Regions from separate parts of the Homo sapiens genome. Here region 2 is linked to region 1. Evidence: promoter capture Hi-C in 16 types of primary human blood cells and fetal thymus (Javierre and others, 2016). All regions are on one chromosome and are shown on one strand. The core of a region is centred on a gene start or on the middle of the fragment in contact, and the rest is flanking DNA. Distances in the headings are between cores, read along the strand shown.

The links. Contacts are between HindIII fragments. The CHiCAGO score rates a contact against its expected background, and 5 or more counts as called.
Region 2: a contact is called between a fragment that was not itself captured here and the fragment with the promoter of RRAGC in region 1, in 3 of 17 cell types (naive CD8 T cells, naive B cells and neutrophils). The highest score is 5.6, in naive CD8 T cells.

The regions. Positions count from the first base shown.
Region 1 is chr1:38,857,402-38,863,990 of GRCh38, forward strand. RRAGC (Ras related GTP binding C) reads right to left here and starts at 2,371. Exons shown (of 7, transcript NM_022157.4): 1 at 2,009-2,371. The coding sequence starts at 2,245. It overlaps RRAGC-DT (RRAGC divergent transcript), which reads left to right and starts at 2,492. Exons shown (of 2, transcript NR_186075.1): 1 at 2,492-2,838. It overlaps MYCBP (MYC binding protein), which reads right to left. Exons shown (of 5, transcript NM_012333.5): 5 at 5,092-6,589. GJA9-MYCBP (GJA9-MYCBP readthrough) reads right to left here. Exons shown (of 3, transcript NR_037637.1): 3 at 5,089-6,589. RefSeq lists a silencer at 1,901-2,660 and an enhancer at 2,296-2,590. The HindIII fragment of the contact is 4,947 bases long and covers 36-4,982 here.
Region 2 is chr1:37,853,190-37,859,500 of GRCh38, forward strand. MTF1 (metal regulatory transcription factor 1) reads right to left here. Exons shown (of 11, transcript NM_005955.3): 2 at 4,062-4,520. The coding sequence starts at 4,469. Among named protein-coding and RNA genes, the nearest start is that of MTF1, 3.2 kb to the right of the region's middle. The HindIII fragment of the contact is 3,485 bases long and covers 2,131-5,615 here.

The DNA.
Region 1 (6,589 bases), core at 1,121-3,620:
AATCTGCTTTAAGATTATAAAAGTCTTACAGCTAAAGCTTAAGAAGTCTGGTTTATTCAAAAATTACTTGAATGCCTACCTCAGGCTCTGAGGAGTAATTTAAAAAGTGAAACAGACTGGACTCTGCCCTCACTGACTTTGCAGTCTAAGAAGGGCAGTAACTATACCAAGTAGAAAGTGAAAACGTCCAGGGGGAGGCCACGGGGACTGACAGGGAAAAGATAGCTCTCATGAGAAAAGAAACGTAAAGGCAATTGTTAAGAGTCACAATAATCGGCCCGGGTGCGGTGGCTCACGCCTTCAATCCCAGCACTTTAGGCGGCCGAGGCGGGCGGATCACTTGAGGTCAGGAGTTCGAGACCAGCCTGACCAATATGGTGAAACCCCATCCCCACTAAAAATACCAAAATTAGTCGGGCGTGGTGGTGCACGCCTGTAGTCCCAGCTACTTGGGAAGCTGAGGCAGGAGAATCACTTGAACCCAGGAGGTGGAGGCTGCAGTGAGTGAAGATCACACCACTGCCCTCCAGCCTGGGCGATGAGCAAGACTCCATAACAAACAAACAAAAAAAAAAGGATCACAATAATCACAACCTACACAGTTCTAACATAAAACTACTTTGCCTCTTACTGTCTAGAAGAGAAAAGTGAACAATTACTCTCAAGGTTTTCTCAGTAACAAATGTGAATAACTGAAATTAGTTTACTAAAAACCTACAGTCAACGTACCCAAGTTTTGCTGTAGAGGTGAAAATCAAGGTAAATAAAACACAGTACTCCAGCAAACCTGGAAGAACGCTGCTTTTTAAAAAGATCCCATCTACAAAATATCACAGATTCAGAAAGAAAAAAAAATCACAGATTTATTTTGGATAGGCCTTTGCAACAGAGTGGAGAGGTGAAAAGACCAGGTGCCTGCTGATACTAGTTTTATTACCAGCTCACTCCGCGTATAATGGGTTTGGCTGATGGAGGAAGTCAACCTTGCCTCTATTTAACCCTCACTAAACAGTGTAGGCCAGCGTGGTGACTCACACCTGTAATCCCAGCACTTTGGGAGGCCAAGGCGGATGATCACTTGAGGTCAGCAGTTCGAGATGACCCTGGCCAACATGGTGAAACCCCGTCTCTACTAAAAATACAATAATTAGCCGGGCGTGGTGGCGCGCGCCTGTAATCCCAGCTATTCGGGAGGCTGAGGCGGGAGAATTACTTGAACCAGGGAGGTGGAGGTTGCAGTGAGCCGAGATTGCACCACTGCATTCTCCAGCCTGGGCGACAGAGCGAGAGACTCCGTCTCAAAAACATAAACAAACAAACGTGTACAGCCCTCCATTTGTTCATGAAGGCCCAAAAGTGAAAACAAACAGACTAGGTCTGCAAAATATTCTCAAAGTCTCAGATTTTTAAAAACACACCCCTACAGGGGGAACAGCACCAGTAATTACATTCACCAGGCCACAACTACTGAAATGGGTGCAATCTCACTACCCAATTCCCAGTAATGCTACAGCGAAGTCTCCTTCACATCAGTAGCGAGAATTACAACGCCCAGTGTCTTAGTCACAACTCTTCCTGACGCTGCTCCCTGGGGCTCTGCTGGGAATCCCGAAACACTCAGGTCACCTGAAGTGAGAACAAATCAAAACGGGCCAGGGGAGGGAGTCCACGAAGTTCTCCAAGTGAGAACTGGAGAGTACGTCTCAGTTTCGTAAATGACACAGGAGCTGGGTCCCAGGGGGCGGAGGTCTTGGGCGGTGCCACCGGGCACCTGCCTCCCGGCAACCAGTTTCGCCTTCAGCGCTCCACTTGGCTTCAGCTGACTTGGGCGTGGACACAGAGGTCGGGGTCCCCGCGCGGGCCGCGCCTGTGCGCTCGCAAGAGTGGAAGAGAAAGTGCGGAGGGACGGAGCGCAGGCGGGCCCCGGCCGCCGCCCTCCCGGGCGTCCCCGCTACCGGCCACCTGAGAACCGGGGAGGGGGCGGGGGACTGGGCGCAGCCCTGCTCACCTTCTGGATGGAGGACTTGCCGCTGCGCCGGAGTCCCATGAGCAGAATCCTCGGCTTGGAGCTGTCAGCGCCCCCCGGACCACAGCCACCGCCTGCCCCTGCCCCAACCCCTCCGCCCGCCGCCGCCGCCTCCTCTTCCTCCTCCTCCACGCCGTAGCCGAAGTCCTTTGGAAACGAATCGGCCGCGCCGTAACTGCCGGCGAGGGGCGTCTCCTCCGCCCCGTACTGCAGGGACATGGTGCTGGAGCCGCCGCCGCCCGCGCCCTGACAGGCCAGGCCAGGCCGAGCCAGGCCGCCGCCTCCCCAGTCCGCCTCCGCCGCCGCCGCCACCACCGCCACCGCCCCCGGCAGCCGCCACAGTCCGGCCCGCCCCCCGGAGCCCGGCTCTCATAGGCCCCGAGCCGAAGCCCAGCCGCTTATTGGCCGCCCGAGCTGCTACTCGAGAGCAGCAGGGTAGGTGGTGCCCCGTCACGTGCCGGAATCACCTGACTCAGAGCCGCGGAGGGGGGAGGAGGAGTCACGAGGAGGGCGGCCCGGCCGCGCCTCTAGCCCCGGCTCGGGCCCTCAGCCCTCCGCCCCGGCCCGCATACAACGCTGTCTGCACCGCTCCCCTGCCTTCTTCCGGGCTCCCAGAGCACCGCTATGGAGATGCTCTCCCGGCATTTGAGGAAGAATTGATTGTCCTCATCCTGCAACTGTACTTGCCCAACCGATATTTATTGATGCCTGCAGTGTCCTGGGTGCCTACCAAGGGGCACAGAACTGGATCCGACGCAGACCCTGCCTGCCTTCAGGTTGCTTGAAGATGAACAGAGAGATCGGACCTCTGCGTAAGTAACCTCGCTACGAAATATTATGTGGGAAGGTCACGGATAAATAATGCTCGGGAGTTGAATGAGAAAGCGTCTGAGCAGATCTAGGTGGATGGATAGATTGGGATGTGCAAAGGTATGGGGGAGCCAGCCACACTGAGGGCAAACCTCAACCAAGGCAGAGTCATGGGTCACCGTGATAGTTTGTTCTAGCAGGTAGCTGGACCCTGATGGGAAAGCAGATGCAGCCAAGCTAGAACATCTTATCTTCTTTCTTCAGTAAGTCGCCGATAGTGGATACTGCTGCCACTTCAAACCCAACGGGACTCAATTTGCCCTCCTTCCCGCCTTGTCAAAGTCTACTCTAGGAATTCCATCCCCCATAGAACACTGCCTCTTCTATGACCTCGTTCAGATTAGAGACCAAAGTATTGAATAATGAAAGCAAACAAAAGCAAATGCTTGTCACCAAATATGTCCGAGAAATCTAGAGGAATTTTTATTTTTGATAATCAGGCTCTAGAACTGGAAGTTTGAGAAGAGGATCCTCTTAAAGCACAGCCCTATACACTTTTTAAAGTACAGGAGTGGGGGTGCTCCCAGCCCTCCAAGGAGACTGACTTCTTGATTATGAAGGAAAAATTCGCACATGCGGGCAGGTCTGGGACTTTGGTTTTGTCTGAACCCAGAAGTTAGAGGTAGGATACACCCTTAGAGGTCATCTAGCCCAACCTCTCACCTAAAACGAACCAACTCTATAGTGTCTAATAGACATGCAGAATGCACTTAAATAGTTCGAAGGTAAAAGAGCTCACCATCTCGAAAGGCAGCCAACTCCACTGTGGTAAACCTTTGTTTAAAAATTGTTAAAGCCGGCCGCGCGGTGGCTCACGCTTGTAATCCCAGCACTTTGGGAGGCAGAGGCGGGCGGATCATGAGGTCAGGAGATCGAGACCATCCTGGCTAACATGGTGAAACCCCATCTCTACTTAAAAAAATACAAAAAATTAGCCGGGCGTGGTGGCGGGCGCCTGTAGTCCCAGCTACTCGGGAGGCTGAGGCAGGAGAATGGCTTGAACCCAGGAGGCGGAGCTTGCAGTGAGCCGAGATCGCGCCACCGCACTCCAGCCTTGGCGACAGAGCGAGACTCCGTCTCAAAAAAAAAAAAAAGTCTTAAAGCCAAACCACACTCCCTGAAGCCTATAATAGAATAAAATAGGAATAGTCTTCACCTTTTTCATGACAGCCCTTCAAATACCAGATTGCAGTATTCATTACCCACTAAGTCTTCTCTGTTCCTTGCTGAACATCCTCAGTTTCAACCATTCCTATCGTGCTGTTCAATACAACTGATATACATGATAGACATGTTCTTTATCTGCACTGTCAAACATGTAGCCGCTAGTCCTATGAGGAATAAGCACTTGAATTGTTGCTAGTGTAACTGAGGAATTTTTTTTTTTTTTTTTTTTTTTTTTTTTGAGATGGAGTCTCGCTCTGTCGCCAGGCTGGAGTGCAGTGGCGCGATCTCAGCTCACTGCAACCTCTACCTCCCGGGTTCAAGCGATTCTCCTGCCTCAGCCTCCTGAGTAGCTGGGACTACAGGTGCCCACCACCACACCCGGCTAATTTTTTTATTTTTAGTACAGACGGGGTTCCACCATGTTGGCCAGGATGGTTTCTATCTCTTGACCTCAAGATCCACCCTCCATGGCCTCCCAAAATGCTGAGATTACAGGTGTGAGCCACGGCACCCCACCAGGAACTTAAATTTTTAACTGCCACTTGCAGCTAGTGTGTACCAAATCGGAGAGCCCAGCCTTATATATTCAAATCCTCTATTGGTCACTCTTTATATGCATTCCAGCTTGTCAATATCCATCAAACATCTGACTCCTACAAAGCAATACTAAACAGTACAACTTTCAGAATGACCATTTAACACCTAGACAGTATTTCTATTCCTGCTTTCCAGAATGTAATTTTTTTTAAGCATCCATAGGGTGGGTCACATTGATAATCACTGTAACTAATACTTTGTCAGCAATCCTAGTGCCTAAATGTGTATAACTGCATTTTTTAACCTAAATGTAAGACTTGATACTTCAACTTTTTGGTTTAGGCCCAGCAGTTTGGGTATTCCACGTGGTTAATCATTTTAAAGCTTGTTTCAATATAGTCTTCCAACCAGACTTTCCAATTTGTGTCACTTACAGATTTGGCACTACCACCATCTGGTCTGTATGTAATCCTTTACAGTTTGCAAGGCACTTTTACATCCATTATATTTAATTTGATTCTTACAACCAACTTGTGAGATAGGCAAGATGTGAAGTCGATATTTTATAGACAAAGCAGCTGAAGCATAATAGGAGCTTAACTGGTGGGATCCATTTATCCATTTTCTCTTCCATGGAGCATCTTGTTGTATTCATCCAAATCCTTGACAGAAATGTTGAAGAGGACCTCTAGAGGCTAAGCTTATCCTGAATTCTTAAATAGCACTGACTGTTACAGTTTAAGCAAGTCAGTTTCACCTAAAAGTGTGATTATCCAACCCACATGTTGCCTTTCTGTTCAAAAAGGATGGTACCAAAGACAGTCACAGTCACCTGGCTTACTGACATAAATATTAATACTAATCAAATGAGTAAAAAGCCCATGAGGATTGGCTGCCACAAAAAATTTTCAACCTGTATCTACCAAGAAACTATCATACCAACTAAGGAAGCCAAGTCTCTCTCTCTTTCAAAACCCTCACGGGGCCATGCTTTATTATAATGGTCTGCCACAGGTCCTAACCCACACTGTATTTGATTATATACAGTCTCATAATTAAGTCATTCCTCTTTATCACACCCAGCACTTAGTCCACTGCTGCCCATGTAGGAGGCACTCAAATTGGTAAAAGAGAAATCTATGCAAGGGAATGATCTTCTGGACCCCCTCCAAAAACAAACTTGTGACTAGAAGAGGCACCAGCCATAGCCACATTCCTACTAACAGGGCTGATTTAAATGCCCTTTTTATTGGCTTGGTCATAGTCTCCAACAGGTGCCAAGGCTTTTGCTAGTTAAACCAGTTTTCATTGGATCATTTTGTTTTCTATGTGTGTTTTGACCAAAAACAAAGATAGGTTCTCTAACAACAGGGAGAGAATATATGAAATAGGAATATGTCTATAAAACGACAGTCTACCAGTAAGGAAAATAAGTGATCCATAAAACAAAACATCTGACTGTAGGTCTACCCAAAGAAAGGAAAAAGGACTAACAAACAAGAATATAGTGCTTTACCATTTACAAATCTTTCACATACATTCTCATTTGACCCTCACAACAACCCTGTGAGGTAGGCATCACGGACATTCTACTCATTAAACAGATGAAGACAGTAAATCTCAGAGTAGTTCACTGATAATGCCCAAGGCTCTACAGTTAGTGAGTGATTTGTATTAATATCAGTCTTTGGCCTAAAAATTCAGCACCCCTCTTCCCCTTATACTTGTCCCACCTACTTCACAGGGATAATGAAGATAAAATGAATTCAAGGCTAGAAAAATACTTTGAGGGAGAAAAGCACTATATAATTATACCTACAAACTATGATTTTCCCCAATATATGGCTCATTCCTCTTCTCATCTCAGCTTGTGTGTGAACCCAGAGTTGTATATTGCCTCTGTCCTGTGCTCAGTAAGCAAATAAGGCAGGCAGGGGGTACAGTGTGATCCTGTTTAAAGTTACATAAATTACAATCAGGGTAACTGCT
Region 2 (6,311 bases), core at 2,623-5,122, 1.0 Mb before region 1:
TTCTCTATCTAACCACTCTAGCCTTGGCTTAGACACCTCCAATGGTTTCCCACCATTTCTAGGAGAGTACAGTTCAAAACCCATAGAAGGTTACCACTGCCTTCCATGTTTGGATCTTTGCTATCTTTCCATCCTTATCTCCTTCTACTACTATGTTCTAGTCTAAGGGTCAGCACACTACAGCCAGTGAACCAAATCCACCCCACTGCCTGTTTTTGTAAAGTCTTATCAGAACTTGGCCATGTTCATTCTTTATGTATTGTCTATGGCTGCTTTTGTGCTACAATGGAAGAATGGAGTAGCTCCAACAGAGACCTTATAGCCTGCAAAGCCCAGAATATTTACTATTTAGCCCTAAGCAGAAAAAAGTGTGCTGACTCTGTTGTAACAGGACAACTGGCTATTCCCTGAAAATGGCCTGTTTCCCACCTGCATTCCTTGTTTCATGCTGTTCCTCTCTCTTGGAAAAACCTTCTCCTGCTTTTTTCCTAAATTGTATGTATTCTTTAAGACCAGCTCAAACGCCACCTTTTTCACAAAGACTTCCCTGATCCCAGAATTAAGGGTGAGCTTCCCTGTGCTCACAGTGCAATATTTGTACCTCTCCTTCACATTTACCACACTGTGTTTGCTGCTATGATTATTGGTGTAAACAATTTCTGCTTCTATGCTATAAATCGACTACCACAATCATTTGCAACATCCACAGAGCATAACAGCATTTTGCTTTATAAATGTTTGTTGAGTTGAAATGAACCCCCCTACAAGCTCAAATATTGGACTGAAACCAACAAGATAAAATTTCATAGGGAGATATTTTTATTTTTTATTTTTTGAGATGGAGTTTTGCTCTTGTTGCCCAGGCTGGAGTGCAGTGGCACCATCTTGGCTCATTGCAACCTCCACCTCCCGGGTTCAAGCAATTCCCCTGCCTCAGTCTCCAGAGTAGCTGGGATTACAGGCGTCTGCCACCACGCCCGGCTAATTTTTTGTATTTTTAATAGACACAGGGTTTCATTGTGTTGGCCAGGCTAGTCTCGAACTCCTGACCTCAGGTGATCCACCAGCCTTGGCCTCCCAAAGTGTTGGGATTACAGGCGTGAGCCACCATGTCCAGCCGGGAGATATTCTTAATAAGGCTTACATGCAGGTCTCCATTTTCATTTTTGTTAGATCTGACAGCTGCATACATGAGAATAATCTAGAGCAGGGTTTCTCAATCCCAGCACTATCACTATTTTGGGCCAGTTCTTTGTTGTAGGGGGCTGTCCTGTGCACTGTAAAACATTTAACAATGTCTTTAACCTCTACCCACTAGATTCCAGTATCGCCTCCACAGTATGACAATACAAAATGTTTCTAGACATTGCCAAACATCTCCTGAGGGCAAAGCTGCCCGCAGTTAAGAAGCACTACTCTAGAAATTTCCAACTATAAGCTAACAGTAAGATGTTGCTGATAAAATGTAGACTATATAGTAATTGTAGTACAGTGTCCAGATTAAGAGATAAGAGCCATACTGTATTCAGTGCTAGTTGACTCACACTTATGAGACTGCGCTCAACTGCAGATTTTAAAAGGACTCTGGGGCCGGGCGCGGTGGCTCATGCCTGTAATCCCAGCACTTTGGGAGGCCAAGGCAGGCATATCCCCTGAGGTCAGGAGTTCGAGATCAGCCTGACCAACATGGAGAAACCCTGTCTCTACTAAAAATACAAAATTAGCTGGGTGTGGTAGCGCATGCCTGTAATCCCAGCTACTTGGGAGGCTGAGGCAGGAGAATCGCTTGAACCTGGGAGGCGGAGGTTGCAGTGAGCCGGGATCACGCCACTGCACTCCAGCCTGGGCAACAACAGCAAAACTCCATCTCAAAAAAAGAAGAAAAAAAGGACCTTGGAAAACTGGAATTCATATAATCAAAGGTGACTAGGCTGATGAGAGACTGGGGAAAATGTCACAGAGGGACATTTAAGTAAATGGAGGTGGTTAGCCTGTACAAGAGGAAGAAAAATCCATGATCTTCAAATAGCTGATGGACTGTTCTGTGGGAGAAAGTTTACTCAGGAAGGCAGATCTAGAACCAGTGGGCAGCACCTGCAGAAAGGCAGGTTTTGGTTCTATACAAGTAAAAGCTTTCTAACAATCAGAGCTGGCTAACAAATGTATTGGGTTGGGGTATGAAACACTCTGCTCTTGTTGTTCTGGATGTCTTCAAGCAGAAACAAGATTAACTGATGTCAGGGATGCCATAGGGAGATTTCTGCATAGGGTAGGAGGTGGGACAAGATGGTCTCTCTAAGGCTAGCAAAGGAAAAGTGATATGCCATCAATAAGCCATATGCAATTTTAAGACCTCAACCACAGCAAAAAAGATATTCCTTGCTAAATCATTCACCCTATTTCTGTTTGGTAACATCTTAGTCCTTGGTACTGTAACTACTAGTGACTTATTTTTTTCTAATTGACCTGTAATAGTTCCTGGATGGGCCGGGCATGGTGGTTCATGCCTGTAATCCCAGCACTTTGGAAGGCCAAGGCAGGTGGATCACCTGAGGTCAAGAGTTCGAGACCAGCCTGGCTAACATGGTGAAACCTCATTTCTACTAAAAATTCAAAAAATTAGCTGGGCATGGTGGTGCGTGCCTGTAATCCCAGCTACTCAGGAGGCTGAGGCAGGAGAATTGCTAGAACCCAGGAGGCAGAGGTTGCAGTGAGCCAAGATCGCACCACTGCACTCCAGCTTAGGCAACAAGAGTGAAACTCCATCTCAAAAAAAAAAATAGTTCCTAGATAATGTATATCACTACCTTTAAACCAGAACTTTTATTCTGCTAATAATAACCACTAATATAATTTGTAAAATGCTTTACAGTTTTCAAAACATCCTGACATGCATTAGCTTACTCACATTAGCTAAACATGAAAATGAAAACTTATTTTAGATAACCTGCTCTCATTTACTGTCTCTTGCCTGAATTTCCTTTTTTTTTTTTTTTTTTTTTTTTTGAGACTGAGTCTCTCTCTCTCATCCAGCCTGGAGTGCAGTGGCACGATCTTGGCTCCCTGCCACCTCCACCTCCCAGATTCAAGTAATTCCCCTGCCTCAGCTTCCCAAATAGCTGGGATTACAGGCACCCGCCACTATGCCTGGCTAATTTTTCTATTTTTAGTACAGATGGAGTTTCACCATGTTGGCCAGGGTGCTCTTAACCTCAGGTGATCCACCTGCCTCGGCCTCCCAAAGTGCTGGGATTACAGAAAGTGTTAGGATTACAGGCATGAGCCACTGTGCCCAGCCTGAATTTCTTTCTTTTTTTTTTTTTTTTTTTAGATGGAGTCTCACTCTATCGCCCAGGCTGGAGTACAGTGGCATGATCTCGGCTCACTGCAACCTCTGCCTCCCGGGTCCAAGTGATTCTCCTGCCTCAGCCTCCTGAGTAGCTGGGATTACAGCCATGTGCCACCAAGCCTGGCTAATTTTTGTATTTTTAGCAGAGACAGGGTTTCACCATGTTGGCCAGGCTGCTCTCGAACTCCTGACCTCAAATGATCCACCCGCCTCAGCCTCCCAAAGTGCTGGGATTACAGGCGTGTGCCACTGTGAAATAAAAGTTCATTAAACATTCACTAAGATAATAAAACATATTCCAGCAGATACTCATCTCTAAAACAAATCATTTAAACACAACCAGGAGATAAGCCAAATATAGTTATTTCTTCATCAAATAAGCAAACTCCAGTTATTTCCCTGTAGATAAGCTAAATAGTTATTTTAGCACCAGAAACATGGGTCTACTTAAGTGAAATTTCTGTTTTATTTATGATTTGGGGAAGGAAATTCGAGAAATTACAATTTGATATTCCCAAATTTCAATGTGGCTATACAAACCAAAAGTTCCAGAAGCAATCACAACAAAACCTGAGGCATATGTTGTTGATAGCAAAACTACTTAAGTCCTAACCCCATGCACTCCTTTACTCCCCAGCTAAAATTTGCACCAAGAATTTTGTAAGGACTTGCCCCAAAACCAAACTAGGCCCTCACTGACTGCTTTACTTACTTCTTTACGTTTTGTTTCCGGACATTCCGACTGCAGAGTGAGGGTTGCACCTTCAATATTTCTTGGCATGGGTGTGGAACCAGGGTTTATTGTCAAATGAATCTGATCTGGTGAGATAATGTGCTGCACATAACCCTGGGACATTGCTTCATGATCTATCAGGTGAAAGCCCTCTTCACCCCCTACTAGAAAAGGCAAGTGTTCTCCGCACTGTCCGTCGTCATCTTCATCCTCCAAAGTGCCAGGGTCCTGCTCAATAAGAACAGTGGTCCTATCATAAACAGTTCCAGATGAGGAAGGCACCAGTCCGTTTTTATCCACAAACCTGAGCATTTTATCATCGGGGGTCAGCTCATCTTCCTCTGCCTCAAAGTAGATGATGTTGTTGTCTGGACTGTGTTCCCCCATGGTTCAGTTGTGCTCAGCCCAGTTGTGAGAAATGAAAACGTAATGACTTGTCTGCAACAGAACAAAGCCAGAGTTAGAGTCATACCACAAGACCGACGGACCTCCTCAGCAACCACAAGGCTCATTTTCCCTCTCACTTAAAGAGCAAGCCAAAGCAAATGAAAAACCATCCTTGGGAATAATTTTTTTATTTTAACTTTAAAACCATCAAGTCATTTTTAAAGAAAAGCAATGCCGACTGGGCGTGGTGGCTCACACCTGTAATCCCAACACTTTGGGAGGCTAAGATGGGAGGATCGCTTGAGGCCAGGAGTTTGAGATCAGCCTGGTCAACATAGTGAGACCCCCATCTCTAATAAAAAAAAAAAAAAAAGAAAAAGAAAGAAAAGCAATGCTTTTCAAAAACTGAATAAGTTCATAAGACCTTCTGAATACGCCTGTCAAACAATTTGAAACTTGGTCAAAATATTTAAAGGGGACAAAAGAGCAAACAGAACAGCAGCTGCTGAAAGGCTGAGTTGCTACAAATCTTAAGGGAAACTCCATCCATTCAAATATCCTCCAAATCAGACCACGAGGCAGTAAATGGTTTCATGCAGTTTATGGTAGAAGGAGCAAGGCTTTGGAGGCAGAGTCATCTACCTACAAATCCTGTCTTTGCCTTTTACTACATGGGTAACTTTTCTGTGCCTCATTTTTCTTACGTGCAAGGTGGGACCAGTAATTCCTGTTCTCTCAAAGTTTTTATAAGAAATAAAAGAGGCAACATATGTAAAGCACAATGTTTGGTAAATAGTAGAGGAACAAGTATGAATTCCTTCCCCCCTACCTAGAACAGATGTTTCAACCTTCTGGGTGGAAGGGCTATTCCTCAATCAGGCACAAACAACGAAGATCACTGTATCTATTTATGTCCTAAAACAATATGGTGTCAACAAGAAGTTATGGTTCTGTGGTGGGCTCTCGTCCCTGAATCAATTGAGTCTTATTATTTTTGTTTCTACAGCTCCTAGCATAGTACACTGATACTATGATAAGAGTTCAGGAAATGTCAGCTAAATGACTGAAAGACATGGCTACCTACTCTCTCGTGAAGATATACTATCTTGGGAAGATACATTCTCTTGAGAAAAATACCACATTTGAAGCTTTCATGTTCTGGAATAGTGATTCTTCCTTCATCTGCAAACACAGGCTCTACAAATGTGGGTTTGGCAGGCAGAATAGAGAATTTTAAAATAATCAGCACATCCCTTTTAGTTTTCAGTCTGGCTTTGCGCTTTATCTTTCTCTTCTGCTCTGGGTTAGAAAGTGAGCCTTTACTTAGTGGGATGGCTAGACAGTTACCAGAGACAGGCCAAAGGATTGGATCCGGGAGGTACCGGCCCGACCCCTAGCTCTGGCTTACGCAACCCCACAGATGTACATTTCGCTGCATCTGAGCAGAGAGAGAAGAGCACCGAGGGCCCCAGTGGGCTGCCCCGGCACCCTCGGCGGCAACGCGGAGACCAACTGTCCGAAACAAACAAGACCAGGAGGTTTGAGGGTAGCCAACGAGGAGTGCGAACAGAGCCCCCTTGAGAGGAGGCTGGGAAAAGGAACCTGTCTGGGATAGCCCCCAGCACAGGGCTACACAGAAAAATCCGAAGACAAGCTGGGGGTCTCCAAGCAAGGAGGAGAGGGGCAGGGTCCGGGTCTCCATGGAAACAGGGAAGGGGGGCTGGATACCCATCCCCATGGAAACGGAGAAGGGGTGGGGTCCCTATGGTGACCAAACTGAGGTCTCTATTGGGAAATGCTTCAGGAGGGAGCCTAAGTCCCGCGCCTCCCGGTAAGTCCCAA